Regions from separate parts of the Homo sapiens genome. Here regions 1 and 3 are each linked to region 2. The links are contacts of gene promoters, found by promoter capture Hi-C in human tissues and cell types (Jung and others, 2019). All regions are on one chromosome and are shown on one strand. The core of a region is centred on a gene start or on the middle of the fragment in contact, and the rest is flanking DNA. Distances in the headings are between cores, read along the strand shown.

Evidence for each region. The method cuts DNA at HindIII sites, captures the fragments that hold promoters and counts their contacts. A contact is called where the count stands out against the background at its distance.
Region 1: a contact is called between a fragment that was not itself captured here and the fragment with the promoter of SKOR1 in region 2, in 1 of the 25 tissues and cell types used here (spleen).
Region 3: a contact is called between a fragment that was not itself captured here and the fragment with the promoter of SKOR1 in region 2, in 1 of the 25 tissues and cell types used here (lymphoblastoid cells).

The regions. Positions count from the first base shown.
Region 1 is chr15:67,334,067-67,337,966 of GRCh38, forward strand. IQCH (IQ motif containing H) reads left to right here. Exons shown (of 21, transcript NM_001031715.3): 5 at 2,909-3,029. Among named protein-coding and RNA genes, the nearest start is that of IQCH, 81 kb to the left of the region's middle. The HindIII fragment of the contact is 3,489 bases long and covers 785-3,900 here.
Region 2 is chr15:67,823,484-67,827,003 of GRCh38, forward strand. SKOR1 (SKI family transcriptional corepressor 1) reads left to right here and starts at 2,026. Exons shown (of 9, transcript NM_001365915.1): 1 at 2,026-2,226; 2 at 2,453-3,520. The coding sequence starts at 2,120. LOC124903570 reads left to right here. Exons shown (of 4, transcript XM_047433429.1): 2 at 476-560; 3 at 1,156-1,919; 4 at 2,030-2,101. The coding sequence ends at 2,101. RefSeq lists an enhancer at 3,294-3,520. The HindIII fragment of the contact is 30,837 bases long and covers 1-3,520 here.
Region 3 is chr15:67,363,304-67,366,969 of GRCh38, forward strand. The region is part of intron 8 of IQCH (IQ motif containing H); the gene reads left to right. Among named protein-coding and RNA genes, the nearest start is that of IQCH, 110 kb to the left of the region's middle. The HindIII fragment of the contact is 3,882 bases long and covers 1-3,558 here.

The DNA.
Region 1 (3,900 bases), core at 1,279-3,778, 490 kb before region 2:
TTTTAAGCTATTATAGAAGATTTAGCATCAAGTGATAAAGTTCTGAATTCCAGTTGAGGAAATAATAATGAGAAACTAGCTAGAAGGGACATTGTTCTATTTATAATATGATTTATATTATATCATATTATACAAACTACAAAGTGTGGTTGCAGAATAAAATATAATAAAAAACATGACAAAAAGAAGAAGCCACAGCAGATGATACTTGAATCCTTTCAGGCGATCAGCACATTCATAAAGCTGGTTTCTTTAATTTGCATCAGTCTCAATCTACCTTTCCAGTCTCATTCCCCCATCCTACCCTCCTTCTCATACCCATACCCTATACTCCAGTCACATAGAGCTCCTTCTCGTCAGTGAAATCTTCATGCATGAAATATGCTGTTTTGCACCATTGCTACCACTTTTACTACCTATAACTGCATCCTCTTCTCCACCTGATATAATTTAGTGCTTTATTTAAGATGCAATTTAAATGTCACTTACTGCAGTACATCTTAACTTTGGCTACGCATCAGAATCACCTGGGGAGCTTTCTAGAAATACTGAGGCCCAGGCCCCAGCCTACCTATTCTGAGTTAATTGCCCAGGGTTGGGTCCCAGGGTTGGGGCCCAGGCGGCAGTATTTTTAAAAAGCTCCCTGAGCGATTCTAATATACAGCCAGGGCTGAGAGTCGCTGCAAAGCCTTCTGCAATACAAGCAGGCAGAGTTAATTACTCCCTCTTCTATACTCCTACAGCCCTTAGCTTTTCCATTGCTCATGAAATTTAATGCTCAGCGTGTTAAAGTTAGTGTTATATAGTAAGTGCTCAGTAAATGCTGAAGGTTGTTTCATTCCTTCACCCTCCAACCAAGCATACGCAGAAGTGATTATCCTTACCATGGAAGAGGACAGCAGAGTGGACAGATGTTTCCTATCCAGTGACACTATCTGAGGGATTTATTTCTGTCAACGAAAACACCACCTTCCATTCTCCAACACATACACACACACACACGTGCACACACACACACTACACACACAGTCACCTCACTGCCTTTTCAGCATAGTTCTTCGGTCTGGTTTTTACATTGTTTAGATTGATGCAATTGAAAGAATTAAAGCAGTGTGATGAATGTGCTGATTGCCTGACAGAGTCTGAACATCACTTGCCTACTGTCCTCTCCTTTGTGTCATCCTTTATGTTGTGTTTTATGTTCGATCCTGCTACTTTAGCTTGTCAGAGCAGGTTGTCAGGTGTTCTTTGTCAAAGGCTTTGAGAAAATCCGGATAAATTATCCTCTTTGTCCTGAAACTGCCAAACCTATATTTTACATCATCACAGTGCTTGACAGTTTTATTTAAGTTGAATCTTTCTCTCTTCCTCCGATTTACCTTTGTCTCACTGACCTTTATATCAATCAGACAAGTGGAGACCCTGCCGCTTTTGATATTGAATATTCTCAGCTATGTACATGCCTGCTAGAGCACAGTGCATTGGATATCTCAGCCTTACTGATTAGGAGGAGATCCTGGAAGCTACTCATGTCTGGAGATGAGGTGGGGAGAGGAGAGCTGAGGATAAGGGCAAGAAACCAATGTGGATCAGGAAGACCAGAGTCTCATAATAAATAAATCTTCTTATGAGTCCTGCACTCTCATTAAGGCGAGGCTGGTAGCACCTCCCTTTCCCCTTCTGACTCACCTGGGGAGAAACAGATTGCACTAACAGTCTACTCTTTCCTATTCAAAATACTATTTTTATTTATTTACCAAACATCATCAAAGTGTTTGATGTTCATGGTGTTACCACATCCTGGCAGTGGGGGCCCTAACCCTTTGTCCAGACATTTCTCAGCTAATAGATACTTATTTTGTAAAGTGATTTTCTCCCTCTGGTCTTGATGAAGCTTTCCCTTTCTTTTTCCTTAAAGTCACTATGACCTTAATGGCAATAAGGTATTGTGCAACCGAGTCCAATGGCAAATTTTACCAATGTAAAATCAGATTAATTTCAGAATTGAATAATCTGTGCATATCTAGTATACTGCATGGCCTGAAACAAATTTCTAATCTTTCTGTCTTGAGTTCTTTATTAGTTAAATAGCAAACTGTTACCTAGTTCCCTTGGAAGTTATGTAAATTAATTAATGTTTGGAAAATGACTTGAAAATTCAGTCTATAAATACCAAACTATAAATACCAAAGTTGCATTTTCCCTGCTGAGAGAACCCAGGTAATTCATAAACTCCTACGATAAAGGTAAAAATAGTATAGTTGGACTATACAATCAAATGTGATTTATATGCAATATATGTAATCTTTAAAATCTAGAAACCATTTAATAGAAACAATTCATATTTTGTAACTGTAATAAAAGCATTTTATGACTTTAGGAAAAGTAATTATCTTCTCTAACTGATCTAGATATTGTGTCTTTGTAACCATCTCTGAGATCTGCAAAAGAATCTACCCAGAATTAATATTGATTGACATGTTTATCTTTTAAGTCTTCCAGGTTTTTTGTTTTAACATTAACACTCTAACATTTATTTCCTGGGAAATTTTTTGGTACAAAACTTTGCTGTATTCAAAACCTCCTCTGTCAAGATTTAGCATTTGTATATTGTAGTCATTAAAATTGAACAAAATCTTAATAGTTCTTTTATTAACTACTATGTTGACTTTATATAGTGGAAATCACAACTTGTTAATTGGATTTAATTAACTATTTTAAATTACACAAACTCCTGATGGTAGTAGACAATAGCACAGGGTATTCATGAGCAATAAAATTGGAGCTGATATTGCTACTTTATTAAAACTTAATGCAACTATTCATAACTTTATTTATTGTTTACAAGAAGAAAACTGTTCACTGTGAAGGCAAAAATGTTTGCTGAAACAAATTTTTTATTATCTAGATAAAGGTTTCGAAGTTAATCAAAGGGTCTAACATATCCAGCCTCACGGTTCTGCCATCTTCTCATTGCACAGATCCCTATTTCACTCCTATACCAGTCTTACAAGCAGATGCCCACAAAGGTTAGTGATTCAATAGCCATTTTACGTGTTTAGGAACGGAAAAGAAAGAGCATTGAGGTAGGATCGGAGGCCTGAATTTGGACTCTGGCTCAGCCACTAATTCTCCTGGGTGGCCTCAGACAAGTCAGGTCCTCACTCTGGTCTGAGTTTCCTGCTCTGTAAATTAAAAGGTTGGACAAGACGATCACTAGAGTCCCTTCCACCTGTAAAATTCATCATTCTATGGATTTAATATTGATTTAGATGGTGTTATTACCTATTAAAATGATCATTGTGTTTATGTGATAGCATTAGAATTTATTAAGTTTCTGAGCAGATCATTTTTGATATATTATTCTGGTAGCATTTTAAAAATTTATTTCAATACCCTATTATAAGGAAATATGAAGCCAGAATTAATGTAATTAGTGTTTAAACTATGCATGTTTTAGTCTAAACTCTAGTCTTGTGAAACCAGTGGATTTTGTTTTTAAGCAAAGGATTTCATCTTTATCTCAGTATCTCTAGCACCTAGAACCATATCCAGCATTTTGTAGATACTAAGTGTAGATTGAGTGAATAAGAAAATGAAAGAATAAGCAAGCGAGTGACCAAATACTGAATGTCCTAAGTGTAACCATCTCTACTGTTCCCTGCTATTTAATTTAATTGACCAAAGTGTTAAAAAATGCCTAAGTGGATCCCTTTCCTATCTCAAATATAACTTAGTGAGACGGTCTTTAATTATTCCTTATCTCGCCTTCTATCTGTTGTCTGGAATTTTTAGGACCCAAAGCTGGTTCCCAAAGGTTCTTCTGCCACCTGGAAATTCAAAGTCCTCCAGCTTCTAGCTACTGCATCTTCTGTCTGCTGGTGGTAGATAACCTGAGAT
Region 2 (3,520 bases), core at 776-3,275:
AGAGCGGGAGGGGCCGCGGGTGGGAGCGCGGAGAACCAGGGAGCACGGCTGTGCGCGCGCGCGGGGAGGGGCCGCGCCGTCACCCGGAGAGCCCGGCGGATCCCGGACTCCCGCCCGCCGCTCCTCCCGCCGCGCACCTCCGCTCACCGCTCGCCCGGCTCCAGCCGCCGCCGCACTGTGAGTACCCACGTCCGGTAGCCCGCCGCCCCCGCGCTCTGCTCCTGCAGCTTTTTTTTCGTTTAGTTCTGATTTGGGCTCCTGTGGCTGTTGTTTTTATGATTATACCTAAAGACACCACCGCCTCGCTCCCACCACTGCCAGTCTCCCGCTTCGCTGCCCTCCCCAAGCTCGTCCATCTAGCTCCGGGAGCCGACGGGGGTTCCTCAAGCTGCTCTGGCTGCTGCTCCTTGTCGCTGCATATGGCTCTTCGCCTGTGCTTTCCGCTTTGGCCCCCGAAATTCCGTTCCTTTCCTAGGGACCCCCTTCTTCTGACTCCGGGCCCGGACCCCCCTCCTCTCACTCAGGGAAAACCGCGCAGGGACCCAGGACCCTCAACTGGGGTACGCTCTCGGCTCGGGCGCTGTCTTCACTGTATGCGGGCCAGGCATAGTTGCCGATTTCGAGAAACCGAGAAGCTGTCATTTCCCAGCGCTGCGCGCCCTCCAGCCACCTCCAGGAGGGCGCGAGGCTTGTCAGCCGGGGAGTTAGGACAGTGTTTTTGCCTCCTACAATGATATAAAGGACTTCAACGCGAAATAAGGGTCAACTTATTTTAGTTCGATCCTCGGAGATAAAGATGAAACAGACAGATAATACATAAATAGCTTGATACTTGAAGAAGGTACAAAACAGATGAGAGAAAGAGGAACGAGCCGGCAGAGACAGCTCAGGGACAGATAAGATCGACAAATGAGGGTCTCCTAGACAAATAGAGAAGAAGGGAGAGAGACAGATAAACAGAAGATTCCAGTCTCCTTGCTGAAGGCTTTTGAACTGGGATCCCCTGTCTGGAGCTGCCCCTCTGAAAACGGAGTTACATTCAGGGCCGACTGCAGGGGAGGAGCCCTCAGGGTTGGGCTGCCCTGGCCGCAGGAGCGCCTGCAGCCTTGGGCCGGATGGGAGCCTGGCTTGTCTGAGGACATGTGGCTGGGTCAGGCGACCTAGAGGGCCCCAAACATCAGTCCCCAAGTACCCCCGCTGCTGAGGTCTGCCTGCACAGCTCCCTCCCTGCCTCAGCCAGAAAGCAAAGTGCAAGGACCAGCAGCAACTTGTGTGCCTGGAGCCTTGCAATGGCTACGAAGATGGCTGAGATTCCTTCTAGCCCATATGAGCCGGGACAGCGAGGCATGAAGGATACTCAGAGAGGTGATGCCCCTCAAAGAGGAAGCCCAGAGCCCCGAATCCTGCAGTTGGCCCGAGTGGGAAACGTATATCTGAAGGAGGAAAGCTCAAGGAGTGGGCGACTGGAAGCTAAGAAGTGGATCCCAACAAAGTTCCTTGAGAACCTCTCTGTCCCACACGTTGACCTCGGTGGAAACCAGCTTTGGTCTGGAATACAGCTAAAAATGCAGAAAATGTGGTTAGAACTGCAGGATCCTGGTCTCACTAATAGCTGGAAAGAAAACGGTTTATATATCCAGCCGAAATCTTTCTGCTCAACGAACGCGGGCGCCAGCCGTGAGAGGAGAAGCTCGGGTTTGTGGAAACTGGCAATGTTGTCCCCTGAAGCCGGCTCGGGCACCAAGCTGGGTGCGGTGGGGGCCGCGCTAGGTCCGGGTGCGCACCGAGCGCTTTGGAGAGGGTCAGGTTCAGCACCGCGAACAGCGGTAGCCTCCGCCTCTCTCCTTCCCTGGCAGACACGGTTCCCTCCTCCTTCTCCTCACCCCCCTCCTTCTCTTCACCCCCCTCTACCCCCTGCTGTCTGGAGATGGGCAGTGACCGCCCCTCCCCCCTCCCCACCCCTCCTTGCACTGCCCCCGCCCGCCCGCGTGCATGCGCGACTGAGCAGAGGGGCGGCCGATCCCCGAAGTCCGGGCTTCAGGACCCGGGCCGGCAGCACCGGCTGCGAGGGTTGCCGAAGGCGCACGGATCTGGGCGCTGAAAAAGCCAGGATTTGGCAATGGCTTTGCTGTGTGGCCTTGGGCAAGTCACTCTGCGTATCTGGGTTTCACTTCCTTCCCAATCCGAAAACGGGATTGGGTTCCTTGCAGCCCGGGCATTCCTGAGGTCTCCTTTACCCCTTCTCCTCCCCCAAGCCCCGGGGGCTGTTGTTAACGGCGCCAACATGGGTCTGAGTAACAAAAGACGCCTGTCCAGGGGGTGAATGAGTTTGGACTCCCCACTGCCAAGTATCCCCCGCGCGCCCAACTCGGAGCGCCCTGCTGGGCGGGCCCGAGCCTCGGCGGCGGCGCTGAAAATGGCTCATCTGCTCTCTGCTTTCTCTATTTCGCAGGAGCGGCGGCATGGAGGCTCTCACCACTCAGCTGGGGCCGGGGCGCGAGGGCAGTTCCTCGCCCAACTCCAAGCAGGAGCTGCAGCCGTACTCGGGCTCCAGCGCTCTCAAACCCAACCAGGTGGGCGAGACGTCGCTGTACGGGGTGCCCATTGTGTCGCTGGTCATCGACGGCCAGGAGCGCCTATGCCTGGCGCAGATCTCCAACACCCTCCTCAAGAACTACAGCTATAATGAGATCCACAACCGCCGCGTGGCCCTGGGCATCACGTGCGTGCAGTGCACGCCGGTACAGCTGGAGATTCTGCGTCGGGCCGGGGCCATGCCCATCTCGTCGCGCCGCTGCGGCATGATCACTAAGCGAGAGGCCGAACGCCTGTGCAAGTCGTTCCTGGGCGAGCACAAACCACCCAAGCTGCCCGAGAACTTCGCCTTCGATGTGGTGCACGAGTGCGCGTGGGGCTCGCGTGGTAGCTTCATCCCTGCGCGTTACAACAGCTCTCGTGCCAAGTGCATCAAGTGCGGCTACTGCAGCATGTACTTCTCGCCCAACAAGTTCATCTTCCACTCGCACCGAACACCCGACGCCAAGTACACGCAGCCCGATGCCGCCAACTTCAACTCCTGGCGTCGTCACCTCAAACTCAGTGACAAGTCGGCCACAGACGAACTGAGCCATGCTTGGGAGGACGTCAAGGCCATGTTTAATGGCGGCACGCGCAAGCGGACCTTCTCCCTACAAGGAGGCGGCGGAGGCGGTGCCAATGGCGGGTCGGGTGGGCAGGGGAAGGGTGGTGCTGGCGGCGGTGGCGGCGGTGGCCCAGGGTGCGGTGCAGAGATGGCCCCAGGCCCGCCGCCCCACAAAAGCCTGCGCTGTGGCGAAGATGAGGCTGCCGGGCCTCCGGGGCCACCTCCACCCCACCCGCAGCGCGGACTTGGCCTGGCGACTGGAGCTAGTGGCCCGGCGGGCCCAGGAGGGCCCGGTGGCGGCGCCGGCGTACGAAGCTACCCGGTGATCCCGGTGCCCAGCAAAGGCTTTGGGCTCCTGCAAAAGCTGCCCCCACCACT
Region 3 (3,666 bases), core at 368-2,867, 460 kb before region 2:
CGGCTCACTGCCACCTCTGCCTCCCTAGTTCAAGCGATTCTCCTGCCTCAGCCTCCCAAGTAAGTGGGACTAGAGGCGTGCACCACCACACCCAGCTAAATTTTTTTTTTTTTTGTATTTTTAGTAGAGATGGGGTTTCACCATGTTGGTCAGGCTGGTCTCAAACTCCTGACCTCAAATGATCTGCCCACCTCAACCTCCCAAAGTGCTGGGATTACAGGCGTGAGCCACCATTCCCAGCCTAATTTTTATTTTTTCAACTTTTAGGTTCAGAAATACATTTGCAGATTTGTTACATAGGTATTAATAAGCTGTGTGTCATGGGGATTTGGTGTACAGATTATTTCATCACCCAGGTAATAAGCATAGTACCCAATAGCTCATTTTTGGATCCTCACCCTCTTCCTACCCTCCACCCTCAAGTAGGCCCCTGTGTCATTCCCTTCTTTGTGTCCATGTGTACTCAATGTTTAGCTCCTACTTATAAGTGAGAACATGCAGTATTTGGTTTTCTGTTCCTGTGTTATTTTGCTTAGGATAATAGCCTCCAGCTCTATCCATGTTGCTTCAAATAACATGACCTCTTTCTTTTCCATGGCTGCATAGTATTCCATGGTATATATGTACCACATTGTCTTTATCCAGTCTACTATTGATGGTAATTTAGGTTGATTCCATGTCTTTGCTATTGTGAATAGTGCTGCAGTGAACATAACACATGCATGTGTCTTTATGGTAGAATGATTTATAGTCCTTTGGGTATATACCCAATAAGGGGATTGCTGGGTCGAGTGGTAATTCTGTTTTAAGTTCTTTGAGAAGTCACTAAACTGCTTTCTATAATGGCTGAACTAATTTACATTCCCACTGGCAGTGTATAAGCATTCCCTTTTCTCTGCAACCTCACCAGCATCTGTTATTTTTTGACCTTTTTATAATAGTCATTCTGACTGGTATGAGATGGTATCTCATTGTGGTTTTGATTTGCATGTAGAATCTTTTAAAAAGAGTTACCATTTTCTCTAATTCATTAGAAATTGCCATCCTCACCTATGCGTTTTCATCATTAAACTTTCCAAATGAATTGAAATTATATAGTTTTATTTGCCAAACAATTTTTTTGAAATTCTTGTGGAACAATTTTTCTTGTAATTACCGAGAAAAACTACAAGGACTGTTTTTACTACTTTTCATAGCATTGTCTAACTGAACATTTTTATTACATGTGATTAATAATTTTGCTTATATACAACAGAAAAAAGGTTAAATTATCAGCCAACAAGATAATCTGTATTTTTTCACTTTATCTCTTTCATTGATCAATTGTGACCTGATCATTCATAGAAAATTTGGAAAATTCAGAAAAGAGAAAAAAAGTATAGAAGGATTTTTTTCCCCATATCACAATCCTTTGGTACTATTTAAACTTTGGCATATTCTTTTATTGGTATTATACTGTATATTCAACTCTGGTTTTACTCTTTTCATCTAATAGTTTATCATAAACCTTTACATATATGATTTAAAATTCATAAAACATTTTTAGTGGCTTTATAATATCTTTATTAAAGATATACCATAATTTTCATCCTATTGCTTGACATTAAATTATAAATGTTACATTATTAATAAATAATTGTTTTTGTTCTTGTTTTGAGATGCGGTCTCTCTCTGTCACCTAGTCTGCAGTGCAGTGGCACGATTGTGGCTCACTGCAGCCTTGACCTGCCGGGGCTCAAGCAGTCCTCCCACCTCACAGTCCTGAGTAGCTGGGACTACAGGCATATGCCACCACGCCCAGCTAATTTTTCTGGCATTTCTTTGTCGAGATGGGGTTTTACCATGTTGCCCAGGCTGGTCTGGAACTCGTGGACTCAAGTGATCTGCCTGCCTTGACCTCCCAAAGTGCTGGGATTATAGGCATGAGCCACCACACCTAGCCTGTGGAACTTCTTGATCAAAGGGTATGGACATTTTTGTATCTCAGTAGCCAAACTTTGCATTAGTGCTCCAAAACTCAAGCTATAAGTTTGCAAATAACTTGTATGATCATAGAACAGCTTTGTGCTGTGAACCCAGTCCAACTGGCTATAAGCTTAAATTTTAGTATTCACACTTTCATACATTCATTCATTCAACTAATCCTTTTTGACCTTTACCGTGTGCCAGGCAGTGTACTAGATAGGCACTGGGGACACAACAATGAATGAAGCAAACCTAGTCCTTGTCCTCTTGGGGTTTATATTTTAGTGAGAGAGGCAATAATCAGATATTTAATATAATATCAAAGAGTGAGATAAGTGCTATGAAGAAAAATAAACCAGAATACATATGTAGGTATAGAAGCCACGCACGGTGGCTCACGCCTGTAATCCCAGCACTTTGGGAGGTCATGGCATGCAGATCACTTGAGGTCAGGAGTTCAAGACCAGCCTGGACAACATGGTGAAACCCTATCTCTACTAAAAATATAAAAGTTAGCCGGGTGTGGTGGCGCGTGCCTGTAATCCTGGCTGCTCAGGAAGCTGAGGCAGGAGAATCACTTGAACCTGGGAGGTGGAGGTTGCAGTGAGCTGAGATTGCACCACTGCACACTAGCCTGGGCAGCAGAGGAAGACTCTGTCTCAAAAACAAAAAAAGAATACATATGTAGGTATAGAGAATATGACAAGGTGGAGCTCTGTAGGAATTTTGCAAGTGTTCTTTAGTGATTTGGATCAAGGAACGTACTAGATCCACATTTTTCTCAGGAAACATGGAATGTCAAGCTTTACTTTGGTGATAATAGCAGTCCTTTTTGAGGCTTGCTCTTTTTCCCATACGTGTAGAGAAAATTATGATGTGTCTTTGCTCAGAGATCTGGGAATCCAGGCTGCTTTTGATTCCCATCCTGTCAGGCTTCCTGTCCACATCCCCAGCAGGTTCAACCCATCCATCATAATTGTCCCCAGTGGTCCTTAACTATGTCACATTTTCTCAGAGAATATTAGAGGTATAACAGAAAAGATGAAATCAATGCAGCAGTAAAATGAAATGTGTCTCTAGAAGGAAATTTCACATTTGACTGAAAATAGACCATCTATTTACAAAATCTTCTTGATTCTATTCTGTTTGATCTTCAACCAGATTTTGATCCATCGTGTGTTTTTGTTCCATGAGAATGCATCAAAGGATGGGGATTTTTCTCCTCAGGAAGTGTTTCAGAGTTCAGGAAGACTCATTTGAATAAAGATACCTTTCAAAGCAATTGCAGAAATTATTCCTAGAAAATTGCTGCTGATCTGAGTGGCCTTTACGCTCAAGTCTCTTCTTTTATATATCTCTGCTCGATGAGTTCTGTTTTTGCCTTTTATTCTCTTTGTAAAGGTTAAGGACTCTGACTTCCACTTTTAATTGGCACTTAAGGATTACTTAGACAGTTTCTAGATATTATGAACTGAGAGCCATTGACTTGCAGGCCCCAGAATACTGGAACACTACTCTTTGGGGTTCTCTCCCCATGACCACCTTTACCATTAGGTGGTGTGGGCAGTCGTTCATCTATTTTGATTTCAGAGTTACTAGAAAGAGTTTTCTATCTGAAAAATAGAATACGAAAAAAATCCCCCAGGTTTTTTTCATGGTGCATAAAGTGATGCCATTGGAGATAGTTGCCTTTGATTTGAT